Linked DNA regions of Homo sapiens: region 2 is linked to region 1. The links are contacts of gene promoters, found by promoter capture Hi-C in blood cells and fetal thymus (Javierre and others, 2016). All regions are on one chromosome and are shown on one strand. Each heading gives the region's core, a stretch centred on a gene start or on the middle of the fragment in contact. The rest is flanking DNA. Distances are from core to core; before and after follow the strand shown. Region 1 holds the start of GPR135 (G protein-coupled receptor 135). Region 2 overlaps KIAA0586.

Region 1 (5,025 bases), core at 1,214-3,713:
AAAGCATTCTGAGAGCAGCATTCCAAAATTTATCAGAAATAAAAGTAACAGGTTAGAGTAAGGATAAAACTTCAAAGTTTTCCAAGGAAGATCATTTTGGAGGTATGACGCGGGTGGAAGGAATGTTAATTTTTACATATAATCTTGGAAAACATTTAAAAGACACATTTCTTTATGTTCATACTTCTATTTGTCCTTCAGATGGTTGAATTTTATCTAATAATAACCAGCTTTTCAAAATCCTAAAATGATTTTAAATGGGTTATGAATTAAAAATTTTCCACAAAGGTTATTAGGGGGTGGGGTGAGGAGGTGCACCAATGTGTGTAAGGATAAGACTTTTCCACTTGCAATCTAAGCACCCAAAGCATGTCAGAGGTGCAAGCTCTAGAAGCTAAAGTTTTGTTGGATGGTAGCGATTTAGAGGGGCTTTCAAGCAGCTCTGAAGGTCTCCATTCATTCCTGAAATTCTGTGTAGTTGAACAATACTGGTTGCATTCAATGTTTTGTTTGTTTCACAGTGTGGTCCTATAATATGAGCTTTTCAGTTATAGTGAATGTTATTTTTGTCATTTTTGGCACTTACAGTTCACAATGCTTGGTTATGTGGTTTAAGATTGTTTTAATTTTTGCATTTTACATTCCTTTTGGCACTTTTGAAGAAGGGACATTGTCTTTTATGTTGTTTGGGGAAAGTGGTAAGCCTCCCCCGTCTCTAGCTTTAAATGTTTGGCTTTATGAAATCCACAACTCTCCCCCAGAATCTTCCATCATTAAATAATGCGAGTGGAAATTTGCCTTCATAAGCTGGCCATTCCAACCGTCTTAGAGGCTGGTATCCCCAGCTTCGGATTTAGGCTGTTTGGTCACTGCCGTCACCGGCTCTGGTGGTCCCTCTCGGCAGAAAAGTACAACTGGATTTTTGCGGGCCCACATGGCCACGTCCCCTGCCACTCCGCTGGCCGGGTTGGAAGAGGACATCCTGTTGCAGGCCCCCAGCCGGTTGGCATAGCGGTTTCGAAGGCGACTGCGGCTTCTGGCTTGCAGACCCGGGCCCTGGCTGGGCAGGAAAGCGTCCACATTCCTAGTCCGGTAGCCCTCCTCGCGGTTGCGCCCTAGGAGCATCGAAATGTTGGGATTGCGGATGGCGTAGATGACAGGGTTGATGGCCCCATTGGCCCAGGTCAGCCAGACGGCCACCACGCTGAGGAGCGAGGGGGCCTGCATGGTCTGGGCCTGCCGGGCGGCGGCCAGCAGCACCAGGAAGCAGTAGGGCCCCCAGCAGCAGATGACGAAGACGATCATGATGAGGACGGTGGTGGCCGTGCGCACCTCGCTGAAGAAGCGCAGCACGCGCGCGTAGGTGTTCACCGGCCGCACGCGCACGTCCGACAGGCGCACCGTCTTGCAGATGTGGTAGTGGCAGAAGCACATGAGCAGGAAGGGCAGCAGGTAGCAGGCCACCACCAGCCCCACGCTGAAGGCCGCGCCCAGCTGCGCGGGGTCCGGGGAGGTCCGGTAGAGGCAGCCGTGGAAGCTCTGCGCCGCCGCGAGTTCCCGGGGCGCCCCGAGCAGCTCCCAGGGCAAGGAGAAGCCCAGGGCCGTCAGCCAGGCGCCCGCCAGCAGCTGCAGCGCGCGGCGGCGGCCGATCTTCTCCCGCGGCGGCCGCACGATAGCGCAGTAACGGTCCAACGAGATGAGCGCCACGCTGAGCGTGGACACGATGCCGAAGCACGAGCTGAAGAAGCGGCTGGCGGCGCAGAAGCCGCGCCAGGGCCCCGCGGCGGCGGCAGGCGCCGAACCCCCGGGCGGAGTGAAGAGGTCCAGGAAGGCGGCGGGCAGGCAGAGCAGCGCCGTGAGCAGATCCGATAGGGACAGCGACAGGATGAAGGCGTTGGTGACGGTGCGGAGCTGCCGGTGCTTCACAATCACCCCCATCACCGCGCAGTTGCCAAGGCTAGACAGCAGGAAGATGAGCAGGAGGACGAGCGCCTGGGCCGCCACTGCAGCTCCGTGCGACAGCAGCGGCGCCGCCTCCGGGCCTAGCGGCCGCCTCACCGCCGCCCCCGCCTCCCGCGCTGCCCCGGACCCGCCAAGGCCGCCGCCACCGGGAGCGGCAGCTGTGCCGCCTCCGCTTGCGTCGCTCAGGTTCCCCAGCGCCGCGGTCGCCACGGTGCTGAAGGAGAGCACGGCCGCCGTGGCCGCGGAGGAAGTCCCGCCAGGTGGGCCGGCCGCGGAGGGGGCGCCGGAGTGCTGGCTGCCCAGTAAGGCCATGCTCGCTGGTGGGCGGGGCGGCTGCGGCTCCTCCATGGGGCCCAGTGGCGGCCGCGGATCTCCTCATCCCGCACCGGGGGCGGCGGCCGCTAGGTCGGAGTGGTGGCTCGGGGCCGGGGGCTAGCGGCCGCCGCGGGGAGCTGGGCTCGGCCGGAGGGGTGGCGGTCGCTGGGGACCTGGCGGAGCCTTTGACGTGGGTTCCAGCGTTGCCGAGGGAACCGCGTGTTTACGCAGGAGCGCGGGGCGGGACGGCAGCCCAGTACCCGCTGCAAAGCCGACCCGCGACACCGCCACTCCGGAGGTTACCGGCCCGGGTGTTCGGGTTTCCGAGAGTGCCAGGTCGACCTCCTGAGGGACCAATGTCCGGCCAGATAAAGTGCCGACTGGCATGCAAACAAATGACCAGATTCAACGAAAGTTCACTCTTGCTCTCTTTTGTAGGGTACAAATGTTCTACAGGCAGGCCTTTTGGGGAGTGGTGGGGGGGGCACTCTGCTTCCTGTGGGTGCTTTTGGTATATACAGGTAGGAAAGGAATCTAGAAAGTGAAGTGAAAGAAAAATCCAGAAGTCTACATCCAGACATCTTAAACTTGAGAAGCAGACTAATTTAAACCAGTAATTCTCAAACTTGAGCTAACAGAATTCACATAGAGGGCGTGTTAAAATACAAGTGACGAGGTCTGAACCCCAGCGTTTCGAATATGTCTGGGGAAGTACCCAAGAATTTGTATCTCTAACGGGTTCGCGGGTGGTGATGATGATGCTGGTCCCAGGACCACACTTACAGAAGCACTGATGTCAAGAGTTTCATAAAATGCAGATTCCCAGGCTGACAGAATTACTAAGGATGGGCCCATGACTCTAAACCCCGTAGGTGATTCTGATACAGGTGCTCTGAGGAGCTAGGATAGTTCCTTTAGATGTTACTTCATTTCCAAGGGCCTGGACCTCAGGCCCCTACTGGCTGATAAATGGGGGGAGAGGGATTGGTGCCTTGCCCTGCTAGCAGCCTTCATCTGTTCTCAGGAATGGGGTATGTTTTGAGTCTAAGGTGCTGCCAGCCTGGCAATCACCACAGATGCAGCTCCAGGTACCTGGCTGGGAGATACGGGGAAAAGAAAGGCAGGGCTACCCAGGGAAGTTGCATCTCAAGTTTCTGGGCATGGCCTCTAATGGGGAAAAGTGTGATAAACCCTCAGGTTAACTAACCCTGGGCTCTTCGCTAAAGCAGTGGTTCACAGAGTATGGACATTGGACCAGCAGCATCAACATCCCCTGGAAACCTTGAGAAATACAAATTATCAGGCCTACAGTGCATAGGATACCCCTGATCTACTGAAACTCCTGTGGTGGGGCCCAGGCACCTATGTTTTAACAAGCCCTCCCAGTGATTCTGATGCACAAATTTGAGAAACACTGCTCTAAAGAATGACTAGTATATTTGTAGATCTTAGAATCAATGGTATTAGTATTGGAGTGCTTATTTCATTCAGAAAAAATATCCTACAGGAAATTTACAGTATAAATAGAAGAACGTTTAAGGTGGCAAACCAAAACTGGGTTTGTCAGCCTAAGCGTCATGGACTTTTGGGCCAGATAATTCTTTATTGCAGGGGCCATCTATACATTGTATGATGTTCAGCAGCATCCCTAGTTCCTACCTACGAGATGCCAGTAGCACCTCTCCCAGCTGTGACAACTAAAACTGTCTTCAGATATTGCCAAATATCCTCTTGGGAGCAGTCAATGCCAGCTTAATCTAGACTGATTTTGTCTTAATTTTGTCAATCAAAGCAAAAATATAATTATCATACATTAATTTATTTGGCAAACACAATCTTCTCAGATTGTGCTTAGTTTTAGGAAACAACATATAAGATAGGAAACCCAGCCCAAATAAGCTTAAGCCACCGGCCAACACAGTATATTACAGTGTGCTAAATATTGTCTTAAAAATATGTGAGTGAAATTATTTGTCTTCCTGACAAAGACTTTGTACAAGAGGTGACATTAGACTTTTTAAAAAAAGAAGAAAGGGAAAGAACATTTGATGAATGTGCAAAGTCTGGAGGTTAGTGTTGAAGTGAGCAGTGTCTGAATTCTAGGATATTGGAGATGGGGAGTGAAGAAGGAAATAAATGATCAAAGTTTATTGGGGCTACCTTATGATGGGCCTTGTAGGCCATGCTCTGGAGACTGAACTTCATCAGGGGAGGAGGGGCTAATAGCATAAGGGAGGGCCGTGAGCAAGTGCATGGTTCAGAAGGACCAGAAGGACTGCACTCTTCTGCTTCCTTCCTTCCTCATCTTTCTCAGTGTCCTCTCCTCTGCCAGTTCATCCTCTTCCACCTGCCTTTACATGCTGGAGTTCATCAAAGCCCTGTTCTCAGCTCCTCTGGACTCCCCCCTCGGCCCCATCTCACTCACATCCAGGACTTCAAAGATAATCTATATATTCATTACTCAAATTATGTCTGTGGCCCCAACCTACATGTCCTGCTACTTGGCATCTCTCTCCTTGATGTGCCAGTGGCACATCAAATGGGTGCATGATCTTCTTCCTACTTCCCCGGTAAAACTTGGTCTTCAATACTCTGTATCTCAGAATATGGTAGAACCATCCTTCTAGCTTTTAAGCCAAAAACTTAAGAGTTTTCCTTGATGAATCCCTCCTCCTTACCACCAGTCCACATCCAATTCATCAACCAAGACCTATGGATTTTAGTTGCGGACTATCTTTGCATCCATTC
Region 2 (2,700 bases), core at 1-2,500, 980 kb before region 1:
TGGTTTGGGGTAGGCCTTTCCAGTCTTTTTTGTCTATGCATATATAGACACATAAATACATACGTATGTGGATGTATGTTTACCTTTAAAAATAGGATCTTACTATGCATATTGTTTTGAAACCTGAATTTTTTTTTTTTTTTTGAGACAGGTTCTCACTGTCATGCAAGCTAGAGTGAGGTGGCATGATCATGGTTCACTGCAGCCTCAACTTCCTGGGCTCAAGTGATACTCCCACCTCAGCCTTCTGAGTAACTGGGACTACAGGCATGTGCCACCACGCCCGGCTAACTTTTATATTTTTTGTAGAGATGAAGTTTCACCATTTTGCCCAGGTTGGTCTCAGACTTCTGAGCTCAAGTGATCCACCCGTCTTGGCCTCCCAAAGGGCTGGGATTATAGGCCTGAACCACCTCACCCAGCCTGAAACCTGAATTTTTTTTTTTACCAAATAATATATTGTGGATATCTTTTAATATAACTCCATATTTTTCTTATTTTTCTTTTCTGGCTGTGTAGTCTGTTTAATCCCTTAATAGAGGGCATTTAGATTGTTTTCAATGCTTTCAGTCTATACACAACTCTCTAATTACCATCCTTTCATGTATATATGTCTTTGTGCACTTATCTGGTCTCTTCCTTAGAATACATGCCTAAAAGCGAAATTGCTGAGTCTACTTTAAAGATGCATCACCAACATGCTTTCTAGAAAGGATTTTTTTTTTCTTTGCTCTAAGTTCTAGAAAGGATTTTTAGCTCTTAATCAGTTTTAATTATATCAACAGTATATGAGAATACCCGTTTCTCAATTTCATAACTACAATTGATATTTATAGTTTTTAATTTCTAACAAACTGGTAGGTTAAACAAAATTCTCATCTTTGTTATAAATTGTACTTCAAAAAAACTGGTAAGATTGAGTAGTTTGTGAATTACTTGTTTATAAACTTTGCCAGTATTTCCATTGCAGTATAATTTTGAATCTAATATGCTATGGCTTTATGGTCAGATTATTTACTAAGTTTGTGTTTCTTTTTTTTTTCTAAACTTTTATATTTTAATTTCTAGTTTTAGAAGATATAGGACTGTACCTGACAAACCTTAATGATAGCTTATCCAGCACTCTGCATGATGCCGTTGAAATGGTAAGTAACGATTGACTCCAACACTGAATTCTGACAGGAAGAATATCTGTATGAATTGGTTGCCACTGATCAGGTTTTTTCTCAATTTTTTGAGTTATAGACACAAAATTTAGTAAAATAACCATGAAATAATTTAGAGTTTCTTGCACATTTCATTATGTAATCTTATAATTATGAGAATGAAAAAAAGTTATTATTAACCCTCGTGGCTCTAGTAGTAAAAAAATATACATTTAATGTAATTAGGTAATGAAATCTAGCTGATTGCAAATTGTTACCTCTGTATGTTGTCTTTACAATATTTAAGCAGGATCTTACCTGTTTAAACCAACTCTCTTGTAATACATTTGTTATTTTTCCCTAACCATGATTATAATTCTTTGTGCTAATAAATATTTAAACTTAATGGCTTAAAAAGAAAAATGAGGTCCAGGGATGTTAACCCTTTCTAGTTTTTATCTAGCTCTGTAGAAGCAAAAGTTGGTATTTAAAAATATCACATTATATATAAATATATAGAAGTGATAGTAAGAATTTTCTTTTGAAAAAACCGTTAAGGAATAGAAATCTTTACTTTTTATATATTTTTAAACAACCTAAGCAAGGAAAGGTAATTGTACTCAACTATCATCTATGTTTATTCACATCTTTTTAAAGCATTGTTGCTGTTTTTTTAAGTTATTTCACATAGGCCTATGAAAATACTTCATTAAGAAGTTTTTTGATAAGATTTTAATGAAACAATTTTTAAACAGTAATTATTTATTGCAAGTAATTGGTTGAGCTAATTGTGAAGAGAGCATAGCAATCACTTTTATGAAATAATATGGGAAGAAGGCATAAATGAGATATCTTTATTTTCAGAGAAGCATTACTAACATTCGGCCTATTAGTGTACAATTATAGCATTTTTCTCCTCTCTTTGAACTTTTTCAAGTGGCAAAGCATGTTTAAATTTATTTAAAGTAAATAGCTAAACCAAACCAAGACTAAATTATAACTTGTTTCTCTTTTTCTACATTTGAAACTAAATTCTAATGTTGATATTTTTACTATGCCTAAATCACATATGCTACAAATTCATAATAAAGTCAAATACAATAGTACAATCTGGAAAAACCCCAAATAACTTGAAATCATGTACCAGTGGGCATTTTATCTATACATAGCTAGGGGATAGGGACTTATAATCTGGAGTTAATAAACTTTATTTCATGAAAAATAAATACAAATACTTTCAATGAATTTAAAGTCATGTTAATATCTGTATTTACAAGATAATCTACTTTGTTGGACTCTGAGGCCCACACTGTTCCTCATTGTTGGGATGGGCCTATTTTGAGGCATGAGGAAGCCTATACAGGGTGCTCCAGTGAGGGTCTTCAATACCAATGCCCTCGCCAAGTAAGCCAGATGTCAGCCCAAAGGCAAAGGGACATTGAGGTCTATAGCTGCCATACCATACTTCTGCAGTTTTTCATTTTTGCTTGTGGTCCAAGTTGCAGCATTACAGTGCTTTGCCCCCATTGCCACACTGTGGCATTACTTTACTGCA

Evidence for each region. Contacts are between HindIII fragments. The CHiCAGO score rates a contact against its expected background, and 5 or more counts as called.
Region 2: a fragment that was not itself captured here is called in contact with the fragment with the promoter of GPR135 in region 1 in 1 of 17 cell types (M0 macrophages); the score reaches 5.4 in M0 macrophages.

Annotation. Positions count from the first base shown.
Region 1 is chr14:59,462,917-59,467,941 of GRCh38, forward strand. It overlaps GPR135 (G protein-coupled receptor 135), which reads right to left and starts at 2,464. Exons shown (of 1, transcript NM_022571.6): 1 at 1-2,464. The coding sequence starts at 2,310. The coding sequence ends at 826. It also overlaps a transcript of L3HYPDH not described here. RefSeq lists a silencer at 1,995-2,534. The HindIII fragment of the contact is 8,985 bases long and covers 1-4,174 here.
Region 2 is chr14:58,489,096-58,491,795 of GRCh38, forward strand. It overlaps KIAA0586, which reads left to right. Exons shown (of 31, transcript NM_001329943.3): 25 at 1,069-1,145. Among named protein-coding and RNA genes, the nearest start is that of KIAA0586, 63 kb to the left of the region's middle. The HindIII fragment of the contact is 4,297 bases long and covers 1-2,700 here.